Linked DNA regions of Homo sapiens: regions 2, 3, 4 and 5 are each linked to region 1. Evidence: promoter capture Hi-C in 16 types of primary human blood cells and fetal thymus (Javierre and others, 2016). All regions are on one chromosome and are shown on one strand. The core of a region is centred on a gene start or on the middle of the fragment in contact, and the rest is flanking DNA. Distances in the headings are between cores, read along the strand shown. Region 1 holds the start of GRM1 (glutamate metabotropic receptor 1). Region 2 has its middle 22 kb from the start of RAB32. Region 3 has its middle 56 kb from the start of RAB32. Region 4 has its middle 73 kb from the start of RAB32. Region 5 has its middle 100 kb from the start of RAB32.

Region 1 (2,897 bases), core at 200-2,699:
TATGAGGGCAAACAAGTATTCAAGTCAAATCTACTGCTGGACACTTTGCATGGAAAGTTTGATACCCTTTCAGCTCCTATTATCCTCAGATATTCTATGGGGTACAATTTTCCTACACTATAATTGTAAGGAAATGAGGATAAAAGGCAATGCCTGGGTGGGCAGTACTGAGAAGGGTAAACTCCGTTCCCCACAGTGCTAGAAATAAACAGGAACAATACTATGATCCCAGGAGCACATCATGCATTGCCCTGACTTTCTCAGTACCCTTCTTTCCCAAATATAATGCCTACCTTCCGTGTGGACTGCAGAGACATAGGTCCAATTGTAACGTTTGACTATGTCAAGCATGGCCCTTGCCTGCAAAGTGTCAGAAGGGACAACCCTCAGGAAGTATTTGTACAAAGTTTTGTCACTCAGGTCGATGCTTGTGGCTGAATAAGCGATCTGGGGGATGTCGAAGAGCTGGAGCAGGTTCTGCACTTGAATGGCTACAGAGCTGGAGCCGGGACCGATCACTCCCGCAATGGGCTTCTTAGTCCTGCCTGGGGGGAGGGACTGGCCGTCAGGCAGACACCGGTTGATCCCATCCTTCTCATCTCGAATGGAAATCAGAGAGTCCCTAATGAACTCAATGCTCTGTTCCAGAGCCACGGAAGAGTGCCAGCAGGAGTCCCGGATCTCACTGCCCAGGGTGATGTTGGGCAGGAGGACCGGGTCCGCGTTGATCTTATCCAACGTGTGGAACATGGCCTCCACCCTCTGGATGCCATACTGCTCCCTGATCTCCCCACACTTCCTCTCGGGCACTTTCTCGGCCGGAGGCTGGTGATGGACTGAGAAGAGGGCTCCAATGATGACATCTCCGTCCATTCTGGCCACCGAGCGCTGAGACGACGCTCCTGCCAGCAACACTTTCCTGCCGGGGCTTCTGGGGAGAAGGGACACCTCCAAAAAGATCGCTGGGAAAAAAAACAAAAGGAGCCCGACCATGGTGGTGAGGACGAGGTCCACAGCCTGCCAGCCGCGTTCCCACGCTGGTCCCGCTGCAGGCTCCCGGCGCGCACCCCCAAGACGCCCAGCGCCGCCTCTCCCGGAGTGGTGCCCCTCGCCAACAATGGTCGTCCAAGGCCTTTGCCTCCTCCACCACCGCCTCCTTCCCCTTCGTCTCCTCCTCTGGGTCCTCCACGACCGCCTCTACAAGCTGGAGGCGTTTGTAAGGGAATTCGAGTCCCCGTTCTTCACCGGTAGTGCATCAAGGTAAATTGATCAAGAGTACAGTGGAAGTCGTGTTGGCAGCGGTGAGCTAGATGCTGCTGACAAAAGACAGAGAAAAATCACAACCTTGTCATCAGAGGACCTGTGTTAAAACTCTGGGGTCTATAATGTTAACAGTTGCCTTGTCCGTTTCATTTCGGCACATCCTGATATCGGCTGCAGGAACAGCTTGGAGCGCAGCTGTGGTCACTGAGGAAGGCGGGGTGTCCTGCCCCCTCTGTCCTCACGGGTCCAGGCGGCGCAGAGCCCCGCCAACTCGCCCGCTCCTCCAACCTTAAGTCGTTTCCTGGTCCCCTAAAACCTATCATGCTTTCTAACTTGGAGGGCGGTGGGGAAGGTGAGCAGAGAGGAGGGGAGGAGCTAGGTCCTTCAACCCAAGAGAACTTTCCGGATTGGAAAAGATCAACTTTTTTTCAGAAGAAAATTTGGAAACTCATTGTAAAGGTGGAAGCGCGACTTTAAAATAAACGTAAACAAAGGATGCACCTTTTACTTTAATTTTGAGGGGTTGAAGAAGCCCTGACATAAAATCAGCTGTAAATATAAATTTGCCAGCTTGAAGAAAATCCACATTAGTTACTAAGGCAACGCCTGGTAAAGTCTCCGTATGGAGGAGTTTGGTATGTTTCCCCCGTAAGAAGTCAGGCTTGCTGTGTATGTTCAAGAAGAAGGGGTGCAGATAAGGTAACTTGTTTCCCGCGGTGGGTGGACGGGTTAGGGGGGGTCCTGCGCTTGCTTTGGGGTTTGCATAGTTGCTAGAAAGGGAACGGAGGGGAGCTTCCGGGTTGCTCTCGCCGCGGCAGCCTGAGCCCTGCCGCCTTCAGGACCCTGGACAGTGCTCGGTCCAGCCAGACATTCCCTGGCAGGGCCTGCAAGGGACGCTTTGACCAGTGAGTTGCAATTCCCTGACCCGCTTTGCTCTTTCAACCTCCCTCCTCTGAGTTCTTTACCCATACACACACACACACACACACACACACACACACACACACACACACACTCCCTTCCACTCGAGTCCCCACCGCCCCTCCGCCCTCATTCTCATCACCTTGCACCGCTTGTGCAGGTATATATCCAAACCCACCCGCTTGGGGACAGAGGCGCCAAATCTCAGCCGCCTGCGGGGCTGAAGTTGGCTCCCTCTCCCGTTCCTCCCCTGCTCCTTTTCTCAAGGTGAGAGTCGACGAAAAGGGGGCTATGGGAGCGGGCGAGGAGAGCACAGGAGGTGAGGCAGAAAAAGGAGAAAGAAAACCCAGGCACCCATTGGTCCCGACTCTTCCTGAGGATACAGGACGAAAAGAAATACATAAGCGAGAATGCGCCTGGGACCCGGAGGAAAATCTGATAGACTGGGACTTTGTCTGCCGTTGTGGGTGGGTTTCACCGGAGGAAGTGTCCGCTCACCTGAGTCTGTTTGGAGGACATGGACTTGAGACATACCTGAGTACCTGAGTCGGGGTAGACAGCGCTATGGTCCCGGGGCCAGAGGACCGTGGCCACGCTCGGCTTGCAGACGCCTCAGCTCTAATCCAGACGGTGCAAGGATGCGATCTGGGCTGTACACTAGTGCCCTCTTTCTTCAGCACTATTTTACCGCAAGGGAAAAAGAGGGGGAGGGA
Region 2 (2,897 bases), core at 133-2,632, 490 kb before region 1:
CGCACCCAGCCATGCAATACAATTTCTTAACATGTAGTCTGCCTGGAAACTCAATGTGCTGCTCATTTGTTCAAGTTTTGAAATGAGGTCACTTGGAACTAACTTGTTTTGCCTTTTGCTTTTGATTGGACTCTGTCTTAATATTTATTTATTTATTTATTTATTTATTTATTTTTTTCTCAAAGTCATAACTCACAAGAGTTACCTTTTATGTATTCCATAAAAATACACTTTTTTTTTTTTGCTATCCCTCCCCCCTCCCCCGACCCCACCACAGTCCCCAGACTGTGATATTCCCCTTCCTGTGTCCATGTGATCTCATTGTTCAATTCCCACCTATGAGTGAGAATATGCGGTGTTTGGTTTTTTGTTCTTGCGATAGTTTACTGAGAATGATGGTTTCCAATTTCATCCATGTCCCTACAAAGGACATGAACTTATCATTTTTTATGGCTGCATAGTATTCCATGGTGTATATGTGCCACATTTTCTTAATCCAGTCTATCATTGTTGGACATTTGGGTTGGTTCCAAGTCTTTGCTATTGTGAATAATGCCGCAATAAACATACGTGTGCATGTGTCTTTATAACAGCATGATTTATAATCCTTTGGGTATATATCCAGTAATGGAATGGCTGGGTCAAATGGTATTTCTAGTTCTAGATCCCTGAGGAATCGCCACACTGACTTCCACAATGGTTGAACTAGTTTACAGTCCCACCAACAGTGTAAAAGTGTTCCTATTTCTCCACATCCTCTCCAGCACCTGTTGTTTCCTGACTTTTTAATGATTGCCATTCTAACTGGTGTGAGATGATATCTCATAGTGGTTTTGATTTGCATTTCTCTGATGGCCAGTGATGATGAGCATTTTTTCATGTGTTTTTTGGCTGCATGAATGTCTTCTTTTGAGAAGTGTCTGTTCATGTCCTTGGCCCACTTTTTGATGGGGTTGTTTGTTTTTTTCTTGTAAATTTGTTTGAGTTCATTGTAGATTCTGGATATTAGCCCTTTGTCAGATGAGTAGGTTGTGAAAATTTTCTCCCATGTTGTAGGTTGCCTGTTCACTCTGAGGGTAGTTTCTTTTGCTGTGCAGAAGCTCTTTAGTTTAATTAGATCCCATTTGTCAAGTTTGGCTTTTGTTGCCATTGCTTTTGGTGTTTTGGACATGAAGTCCTTGCCCACGCCTATGTCCTGAATGGTAATGCCTAGGTTTTCTTCTAGGGTTTTTATGGTTTTAGGTCTAACGTTTAAATCTTTAATCCATCTTGAATTGATTTTTGTATAAGGTGTAAGGAAGGGATCCAGTTTCAGCTTTCTACATATGGCTAGCCAGTTTTCCCAGCACCATTTATTAAATAGGGAATCCTTTCCCCATTGCTTGTTTTTCTCAGGTTTGTCAAAGCCTTTGACAAAATTCAACAACCCTTCATGCTAAAAACTCTCAATAAATTAGGTATTGATGGGACGTATCTCAAAATAATAAGAGCTATCTATGACAAACCCACAGCCAATATCATACTGAATGGGCAAAAACTGGAAGCATTCCCTTTGAAAACTGGCACAAGACAGGGATGCCCTCTCTCACCATTCCTATTCAACATAGTGTTGGAAGTTCTCGCCAGGGCAATCAGGCAGAAGAAAGAAATAAAGGGTATTCAATTAGGAAAAGAGGAAGTCAAATTGTCCCTGTTTGCAGATGACATGATTGTGTATTTGGAAAACCCCATCGTCTCAGCCCAAAATCTCCTTAAGCTGATAAGCAACTTCAGCAAAGTCTCAGGATACAAAATCAATGTGCAAAAATCACAAGCATTCTTATACACCAATAACAGACAAACAGGGAGCCAAATCATGAGTGAACTCCCATTCCCAATTGCTTCAAAGAGAATAAAATACCTAGGAATCCAACTTACAAGGGATGTGAAGAACCTCTTCAAGGAGAACCACAAACCACTGCTCAATGAAATAAAAGAGGATACAAACAAATGGAAGAACATTCCATGCTCATGGATAAGAAGAATCAATATCATGAAAATGGACATACTGCCCAAGGTAATTGATAGATTCAATGCCTTCCCCATCAAACTACCAATGACTTTCTTCACAGAATTGGAAAAAACTACTTTAAAGTTCATATGGAACCAAAAAAGAGCCCACATTGCCAAGTCAATCCTAAGCCAAAAGAACAAGGCTGGAGGTATCACACTACCTGACTTCAAACTATACTAAAAGGCTACAGTAACCAAAACAGCATGGTACTGGTACCAAAACAGAGATATAGACAAATGGAACAGAACAGAGCCCTCAGAAATAACACCACACTTCTACAACTATCTGATCTTTGACAAACCTGGCAAAAACAAGAAATGGGGAAAGGATTCCCTATTTAACAAATGGTGCTGGGAAAACTGGCTAGCCATATGTAGAAAGCTGAAACTGGATCCCTTCCTTACACCTTATACAAAAATTAATTCAAGATGGATTAAAGATTTAAATGTTAGACCTAAAACCATAAAAACCCTAGGAGAAAACCTAGGCAATACCATTCAGGACATAGGCATGAGCAAGGACTTCATATCTAAAACACCAAAAGCAATGGCAACAAAAGCCAAACTTGACAAATGGGATCTAATTAAACTAAAGAGCTTCTGCACAGCAAAAGAAACTACCATCAGAGTGAACAGGCAACCTACAGAATGGGAGAAAATTTTTGCAATCTACTCATCTGACAAAGGGCTAATATCCAGAATCTACAATGAACTCAAACAAATTTACAAGAAAAAAACAAACAACCCCATCAAAAAGTGGGCAAAGGATATCAACAGACACTTCTCAAAAGAAGACATTTATGCAGCCAAATGACACATGAAAAAATGCTCATCATCACTGGCCA
Region 3 (2,897 bases), core at 104-2,603, 460 kb before region 1:
ATCAATACTGTGGATGTAGTCAATATTTTTTGTTATTGTTTGGGAAATGATTTGGCTACATTGTATAAAACACATTTAGAGTAACTGTTACTGGTTTATATATGGCTCATTTCTACTTTTCTATTGTGATACACTTTAGAAAAAAGTCCTTCATTATATAGGTCTAAACTTCCCCCCGCTTTTTCCTGTCAAAGAAGGAAGGAAAGAGAGAAAGCTGAAAAGACAGAGAGAGCTAGAGAGAGAGATGGATTCACAGATTCCATCTATTATTCCTTTCTTTAATTTCTGTAACTGAGTATAGGAGAATAAGTGTCGTTCAAGTCCCTCTTGCTAAATGGGTATCGTAGTTTGAGAGCATTTTGGAATTTTCAGGACCCTCGTGCTCTGATATAAACTTGAATATGCAAAGGCCATGACATAGGGAAAGAAGAGGTTCAAGAACAGACTAGAGGATATAAAATACACTGACAAAATATAAAAGCCAACAGGTGAAGTGGAGCAGACAACTGCTGGCATCCATGGGGAAATAAGCTGTGAATGACTCAACAGGAGGCCAAGATTCCAGTTATATCTCAAGGAGAGAAACGGGATTTTAAAATAGTGGACACAGCCGTTGACCTCACCTACTCCATCCAGCCACATGCTTGGCTGATCTGGCCTCTGGTGAGACCCCCGTCACTCCCTTCCTAGAGTGAGTGGTCCTACCGAGTGCAGATTTTTCTCTGACAGTGGAAGTACCCACACCTTAGTGCTCTGTTTCACTGCCAAACACAAACTATTTTTTTAAATTATTTTTTCCAAAGACAACTACAACTCTGTCAGCTTTTTATCCAATAAATGGTCTGAAACAGGAAGAATCTATTATTTCCCTTATGAGTTTATCAGTAGAAAAGATATAAAGCAATCCAGCTGTGCAGAAAAGGGCATAATCTGTTAATATCACCCTGAGTGAGAAAAATACATGCCATGATACCAAAAACGTGTTTGCCATTTACCTAGTCTTGAACATAGTATAGGAGACTGGATTATCTGTCAATAATCTCTGAGTCTGAATTTGTTAGAGCCCATTGGGTCATGCTTGAACAATCTTGCAATCCTAGAAGCTTGTCTATTGTTTCTTGTAAATCAAGATAAATAGAATATCCATATTTCTTAGAGACAGGAAGTTTTGTTTTTAGACTCAGCCATAAAGTACATAGACAATAAACAGTACTTTGGAAGAATATAAATAAGTATTTAAGTGGCATGAATGGTAGGGTAGAAGAAAAATATTGCTGTGTCAATTTTCATCCCAGAAAGATCAATAGGTAATTAAGGCTGCATCTCAGCTCCTTATAAAAACACATAATTCATTTAGTGCCTCTAATTCTCAATGCTCTACTGGTTGCTCTGGAGAATGAAATTCTCTCTTTGGACTTAAAATTAAGAAACTAGAAACAAATCATAGTTTTTATTAAAGTATGACCTGGATAGAATTCCTTAGGGGTCGTGTTAAAAATGCAGACTCCTGAGTCTTGCCCTCCGTCCCTCCCCACCCCAAAATAATTCAATGGCAGAAACTAACTTATAAAGGAAGAGATGACAATATCTAACACAAGCTTCCTTAGACACAATATTCCTTGAATATTCCTTAATGAGACTGGTCTCATTAACTTATTCATTCAGCGAATGTTTATTGAGTATATAGTAAATTCCAGGTATTTTTAATCCTGGGATTTAAATGGTTCCTGCTCTATAGAACCTCAGAGTTTCTTGATAAGGAGACAGGTCAAATTAGTGCCATAAGTAGTAAAACAGAAATATCCCCCAGGCTAAGCTGGACCCAGAGTAGTGGTGGATAAAGAAGAGATGTCAGCTTGATGGAGGAAGATGCATAATCTCCAGTAAAAGAAAAAGTTAAATTGAGAGAAAATCAAAGGCAGAAAGGCCAGTCAGGAGATCATCAGAATTAATCAGGAGAGATGTGGGCATTGAGAAGAGGAGACACATTTCTTTTCTTTTTCATTTCAAAATAGATGTCATCATTCCTTACTGAAATTGCTCCCTGCTTCCCTCCCCCAAACACAGATACATACACACAGGCCACCATCACTCACAGTACACTATCATCCTGACCCAGCCAAGGGTCCAAGTTCTGAGCCCATGACCATTTTTGTTACCTATCCCTCCGAGTTTCAGTGGACCAGAACTCAGTTATAACAAAAAATGTGAGAGAAACCACATAATAGTCAAAGATGAAACCACGACAGTTTCATAGAAGCAGAATTTTCAACAAAAGCAAGACCTAACAGTAATTTTTGGAATATAGTAACAATGCAAGATAAGCAGCAATGGAAACCATGGCCAAATCAAGACCATTCCGTTAATATTCATTGTTCCTTTCTTCCTTCTTTCCCCTTCTTTCTCCTCTCTCTCACGCCCTTGCTTCCTTTCTTGACACAAGCAGAACAAGTAATGGTGGGTGGTGCCAGGATGGGGGTCAGAGATGGGAGATGAGGGAAGTCTGATAAGCTGAGACATGGGCAACATAGGAGATTGGGCAAATAAGCAAAGAGGTTGAAGATGTTGGGGCTAGGCTTATCACCAATGAAGGAGCGAATATAAGTATGGAATAAAGGAAGATCTGAGTGAACTTAAACTCTGTAGTGTAGACTGCTAGAAAAGATTTAATAGAAAATCTAAATAAAAGGTACAAGTCAAGCAGCGAGACTCGCGTATCAATTAACATACCTAGCACCCAGACTTTGATTTTTAGATAGTACTCTTCATTTAAAAAACCAAACCTTCATAGAGAGATGCTTTATGCAGGGCTGATAAGTAAAGTAGAAAATATTCTTGAAACATCTGGTTGTGCCACAAAGGAAGACAGTGCTGGAAGAATGAAGGAAATATTTCAA
Region 4 (2,897 bases), core at 234-2,733, 440 kb before region 1:
ATTATCTAGGATAATTTTCCATATGTAAAGTCAACTGATAATGGACCTTAGTCATATCTACAACATACCTTCACAGCAACACTTAGATTAGTGTTTGGTTGAATAAATGGGAACCACAGCCTAGCCAAGTTGACAGTCAAATACCTTCACAGTTGGTGTGGTTTCTGTCTCTTTCCTGGGGTCCGACTTGTACAAACCATCATCTATAGTTAGAGTGTTGGATTTTCTAGCTGAACAAATGACAGGAAAGAAGAATCAGTGGGAGGAGCTCTCTTTCTAATTTCTCTAAGACATTACAAAACGAGATCACTTGTAAATCTAAAGTGCAGGCTCCAGCTCTTTGTCTTTAAACATTTTTAAGAGTGATGTATATTTAGGAAACTTGCTTCTATTCCTGCCCTTGGATTCTTATATTTGATTTTACCCATAAATTATGAAGAATGCATCTTAAAATTTTATTGAACAAAAAGAATATATTTTTACTAGAACAGTGCATTAAATAAAGTCTTCTTGATTGATACGACATTAATAAACCTGAATCTAACATACCTTTGTCTATTTGAATATTTCCTTCAGATGCCTACATGTTAGAACTGCTGTAAAATTTATTTTTTTCCTATTCTATTCACTTAAATTGTTTTTATCTCAGGCAAAACACTTGGTGAGTTCTCTGACCTTGAGCCACTTTCCTGTTTATTTTCTGAGTTCTTGTGAGGTTCAAGTGGGATAATGTATAGGAAGATGTTTTGTCCACACTGTGAGGCATTCTTTTTGCTTTAGGAACATCAACTGTGATTTCAAAGATATGAGCACCTAGCAGTTCTGTTTTCTCAGCTCTAATATTTTAACTCATTTTTCTTTTTCCATTTTGAAAAGCTTTAGTGCCACCCTGGATTTATTTGTTGCACTTATTATTTCAATAAAATTCATTTAGGAAATAGTTTTCTTTGGATGGCACTTAAAAAGAGATTTATGACTTTGATTTTCTAGATTCATTTTTCAGAATCATAGACACTACATGGAGAGATTGTTTAGCTTCCACTAAGTACCTAGTGTTCCTAAGGTAGCTTTTATGGAGCTGATTAGCCAAACTTAGACCCAAGAGACCAAAGGGAGATCTAACCTTCACTCCATTCCGTTCTTTTCTAAAGCTCTGAAAATAAATGTAGTTGGATCCTGGTTTTATTCCATCTGGTCCTCATGCTAACATGATTGCAGTCTCTGGGATATAGGCTTGAGAATAATTTCCCACCTGCTGAGAACACAGTGTCAGAGAAGGTGGAATATGGATCTGTTGAATATTTCCTTCTGGAAAAACTATTCTATGCTCTTCTAAGATTTGTTTCTGAAATGTCCAACTCAGTTGGCTGGAAACACCGTGTAGAGGATGAATATTCTTTCCTGACAATAGCCATCCATTTATATGTACCCAGGAATGATAGGATATTAGAATGAGAAATTAAGGAAGGGACAGTTTTGATATGCACGTGTATTAGCTTGCTAGGGATGCTGTAACAAAATAACACAAACTTGGTGGCTTAAACAAATAAATTTATTTTCTCACGGTTCTAGAGACTAGAATTCCAAGATCAAAATGTCAGCAGATTTGGTTCTTTTTGCAGCTTGCAGGTGGCTGCCTTCTGGCCATGTCCTCACATGGTTTCACCTCTGTGAACACTCATCTCTGATATCTCTGTGTGTTCAAATCTCCTCATAAAAACATCAGCTAGAATGGATTAGGGCCTGCCCTAATGACCTCATTGTAACTGAGTCACACCTATATGCAGTCACATTCTGAGGTAGAAGGACTTAAATCTATGAGTATTGAGGGTGACGCAATTCAGCCCATAAACAGCATGCAAATAGCTCAGTACTAGGTATTGTGATAAGGCATTTTGTCATTTAATTTTTAAAGCAAGCTATCAAAATAGGCTCTATTATTTTCCCCACTGTGCATGTCAGAAAATTCATACTAAGTGAAGTTAAGATGGTTGATGTTGGTAAGTTGGTGGAGTTGAGGTCTTATGAATGGGAAAATGGCCCCTGGCATCAAAAGAAATGTGAGAAAATCATAAACCCGAGGAAGCTTCTGTCCATGAATTGCGTAACATTTCAAGAAGGTAAGGAAACAGGTTGGACTTCAATTTCACATCAGTGTAGTGAGACCTTTCCTATACTTTTGAGTTTTCCAGGATCTCACTCCAGAAAAGCTGAGTATGCCAGAATGTATCCAGAAAAGGCTCCTCTAATTCAGACTTAACTTTGTCAGTGCTTTGCATTTAATGGGTCTTCTTCAGAGGACTGGCCTTGGGCTACTGGACTCATTTCTAGGTCTCACAGATAGTAAGAGTACCTGGGAGTATATGTTCCCTCCACCCAGGGTTGCTCACCTGGCAATGGCTGACTAGAGCGTAATCAGGAGGACAAGCTCCTCAGTGTAACTTCCCTTGGAAATTCCCCTGGGAATCAGATTGAGGCTGGGACTTAGCTGGAAATTTCACCCTTGCTTGGTTTCTTCTCCTTTCCTGCTCTGCTTCCCTGGTCCATGTCAGTTTCCCTTTGTGGCATATTCTTAGTAAATTACTTGCACAGAAATCTTTGACTCAGGGACTAATTCTGGGTAACCGAAACTAAGGCACTTTCTGTGGCTAAATCTTATTCTAATTTGCTTGAATTCTTTCGAGAAAACCAAGGATTAAATCAAATCTAAATACTGTGATGGAAAAGAACAGAAAACCTGGGTTTAATTACTGGCTCTGCCATGTATCAGCTTAGTGATTGGATCCTTCATCACTCATTCCAGTGCAAAACACTGAAAATCAAATCAGTCAGACTTAAAAAAAATACAAAGGAGTTTGTTCATTTATCTAACCTCAAATCCAGGAGTAGCTCTGACT
Region 5 (2,897 bases), core at 249-2,748, 410 kb before region 1:
CTCTCCTTCTGCTTCTTCTCTTTCTTTCCCTTCCCTTCCCTTCCCTTCCCTTCCCTTCCCTTCCTTTCCCTTTCCCTTTCCCTTTCCCCTTTCCCCTTTCCTCTTTCCGGTCTTATCCTGTAACTTCACTTAGGCTGCAGTGTAGTGGTGTGATCATGGCTCACTGCAGCCTCATACTCCTGGGACTCAATGGATCCTCCCATGTCAGCCTCCAGAGTAGCTGGGACTACAGGTGTGCTACCGTGCCTAGCTAATTTTTTTTTTTTTTTTTAGAAATGGGATCTCTCACTTATTTCTCATGATTCTTTTTTTCTCCTTCTTTCACACCATCTGTTGCCCCTCTCCATAATCTGATTTCCCCAGGACACTACTGCCTATTGGCTATGGTGCTATACATTTGAACCTCAGTTAGGAACCAGGTATGAATTATTTCCCAAAGCTTTCCTGGATTCTGTGAGAGAGGGAGATTTGTCTAACTCCATAAGTGGGTGATTCCTCAGATCTGATCAAGTGGAGACTCCTGCTGTAGGTCACAATGCTAAATGAAAAAAAAAGAGCAGAAAACCCAATTATCGGGTTGGTGCCAAGGTAATTGGGTTTTACCATTAAAAGTAATAGCAAAAACTGCAAACTGCAATTACCTTTGCATCAATCTAATATAAATGAAAGCTGATTCTAACTCTGTTAAAATGAGACTTATATGAAAGTCACTGGAAGGAAAAATAAAATCTACAATGTCAATGTTTGGATCATGTGACTATAGGTTTTTTCTTTAATTCCCAGTTGTCTACAATGCATTTTATTACTTTTGTAATAGAATAATGACTAAATTTAAGGAATCATTGCATGGAAGTAATCCAGAATCTAACAACACACTTATTTAAAGCAAGCTTTCACTTTAATTTTCTTTTGTGATTTTCCTTGCTATGAAGAAATAGTAGTCTCTATGGGTGATTCTAGAAGTGCCTGTTCCCACTACAAATGATTAGATATACCTTTGCTTTGACTTCTTCAGGTCTTTGTTTTCACGTCTTTATCTATAGTGTTATCTATGTCTGTGGAAATATCCCCCCACTTTCTCTCTTTCTCTCTGTCTCTCTGCACTCCCCCGCCTCCACCTTTCTTTCTCTCCATAATCACATCTGTATCTAGTATGCTATTGCTCTGACCACGTCCCCTTGGTGCCTACCTTCCTCACACAAACCAACATTAAAATGTCCAACCTCCAGCATCTGCAACTCTTTGCCTGAGGGCTTTCTCTGGAGACAGGAGCCTGTACTTGGGACACACAGGGAGTAACTAGAAATTGACATGTACCTCCCTCCCCAGCAACGTTCAGCCATGATTGACAGGAATTGCTCCAATTGCTACCCTCAATTCTCTTGCCCCACGGGGAGTGAGGACACTTGTGAGGCATGTTCTCCACTGTCTCCCAGAGTTCCCAGCAGGACTGAACTCCTGTTTCCCACAGCGGCAACCCTGCATGATAATGTCCCTTTATTGCCTGCATATTGTTTGCTGCCTCTTGCCCGCTCTTCTACCAGAGCTTCCAGGGATCGCTTCCCCAGTACACAACTTGTGGGCAAGTGCTCCTCTCAGGGTCTCTTTCTGGAGAAATTCAACTTAAGAAAAGGTTCATATTCATATCCAATTATTGCAATTCATATAAAAATGGCTTCAGGGTTATAGCTGGCTCTGAGCTAAGTGTGAGCTCAAAATGTGGCAAGACTGCAAACAAAGTAACGTAAATTTAGGCAGAAATAGGAGAATAATGATTAAAGAGAGTCAAAGTATATGTGTGGTATTGTGTCCAGTTCTGGATACAATATGTTCTTAAAGCATATTCAAAAATTGGGATATGATCATGGCCTGATTAGGGGGTTAGGAAGACAATAACAAAGGTAATAATGGAAAGAAGCGATTTGTCTTGGAGCATAAACTGCTAAAGAATGACATAATCACTGTATTCAAGTAGCTGAAGGGAAGTCACGTGCACAGTGGACTAAATTTGTTCAGTGTTTTTCTAAAAGGCAGAACTCAGGAAAAATTAGAGAAAAGCAATATTCAACTCAGGAAAGGAAAGAATTTTCTAACAAGTAAAGCTTTCCCTTATCAAATATAAGATTCTAGTCTCCAGAAATACTTAGGCAGAGGTGAAAAAAAGTCACCTAAATCTATCCTGACCCTTAAAATAAACTCTGGTTACATATGTAATCCTCTGAAAAGCTCATTTTTGTCACCAGCATTTTATCTGCAGAATTTCATAGCCTACCACCCTGTTGCCTGCCTTGATGATTTTTCCTTGTAGATTCCCTGGTTCCTGTCATGCCTCCATTCTGGATTTGGGCCTGAGTTCTGTTCTCTGACCAGCATTCTGGTTTAGCAATGTGGTTTTGGACTTCTTCTCCCAGTGTCTAAGGCTCTCTGCCTTCTCCTTTGGCACAGCAACTGCAGGTAGTTGGCCCTGTACCCAGCCCAACCCATCAGTGGTGGCTTCTCGCTGTCTAGGAAGAGGAACAGAACACAGGAGAATGGAATCCTAAACAGGGTGAAAGTTTATTTTAAGTGACTTCTAAGTTTACTTCCAACTCTAAGCCTCTGTCACTATTTTCCTTTTTGATTTTTGTGATCTTCATTCTTAAGCTTTGTTTCTCTTGTTTATTAACTAATAAGTCTTTCTTCCCAAGCTGCCCTGGGAAAATCAAGCACAAAATCAAGGTTTCTGGTGTTATTAGTTCAAGTCCCTACCTAAGCTCTTCCTCTCCCTCATATTTCTCCAACTCTTGGTAACTGGTTTTGTTTGCCTGTGTCTGAAGAGACATATTTCTTTAAGTAAGGAAACCTGCCCCTGCTTTTCCCATGGGTGATTTATGTTGCCCTCACTTAAAATGTCCCAC

The links. Contacts are between HindIII fragments. The CHiCAGO score rates a contact against its expected background, and 5 or more counts as called.
Region 2: a contact is called between a fragment that was not itself captured here and the fragment with the promoter of GRM1 in region 1, in 4 of 17 cell types (endothelial precursors, M1 macrophages, M2 macrophages and 1 more). The highest score is 7.4, in endothelial precursors.
Region 3: a fragment that was not itself captured here is called in contact with the fragment with the promoter of GRM1 in region 1 in 3 of 17 cell types (M0 macrophages, endothelial precursors and M2 macrophages); the score reaches 7.8 in M0 macrophages.
Region 4: a fragment that was not itself captured here is called in contact with the fragment with the promoter of GRM1 in region 1 in 2 of 17 cell types (endothelial precursors and monocytes); the score reaches 5.9 in endothelial precursors.
Region 5: a fragment that was not itself captured here is called in contact with the fragment with the promoter of GRM1 in region 1 in 2 of 17 cell types (M0 macrophages and M1 macrophages); the score reaches 6.5 in M0 macrophages.

The regions. Positions count from the first base shown.
Region 1 is chr6:146,027,614-146,030,510 of GRCh38, reverse strand. GRM1 (glutamate metabotropic receptor 1) reads right to left here and starts at 1,449. Exons shown (of 8, transcript NM_001278064.2): 1 at 294-1,449. The coding sequence starts at 993. RefSeq lists enhancers at 630-1,130, 1,131-1,631. The HindIII fragment of the contact is 3,742 bases long and covers 1-2,897 here.
Region 2 is chr6:146,520,529-146,523,425 of GRCh38, reverse strand. No RefSeq gene overlaps it. Among named protein-coding and RNA genes, the nearest start is that of RAB32, 22 kb to the left of the region's middle. The HindIII fragment of the contact is 6,008 bases long and covers 1-2,897 here.
Region 3 is chr6:146,486,602-146,489,498 of GRCh38, reverse strand. No RefSeq gene overlaps it. Among named protein-coding and RNA genes, the nearest start is that of RAB32, 56 kb to the left of the region's middle. The HindIII fragment of the contact is 495 bases long and covers 1,106-1,600 here.
Region 4 is chr6:146,469,492-146,472,388 of GRCh38, reverse strand. No RefSeq gene overlaps it. Among named protein-coding and RNA genes, the nearest start is that of RAB32, 73 kb to the left of the region's middle. The HindIII fragment of the contact is 1,210 bases long and covers 879-2,088 here.
Region 5 is chr6:146,439,266-146,442,162 of GRCh38, reverse strand. No RefSeq gene overlaps it. Among named protein-coding and RNA genes, the nearest start is that of RAB32, 100 kb to the left of the region's middle. The HindIII fragment of the contact is 1,212 bases long and covers 893-2,104 here.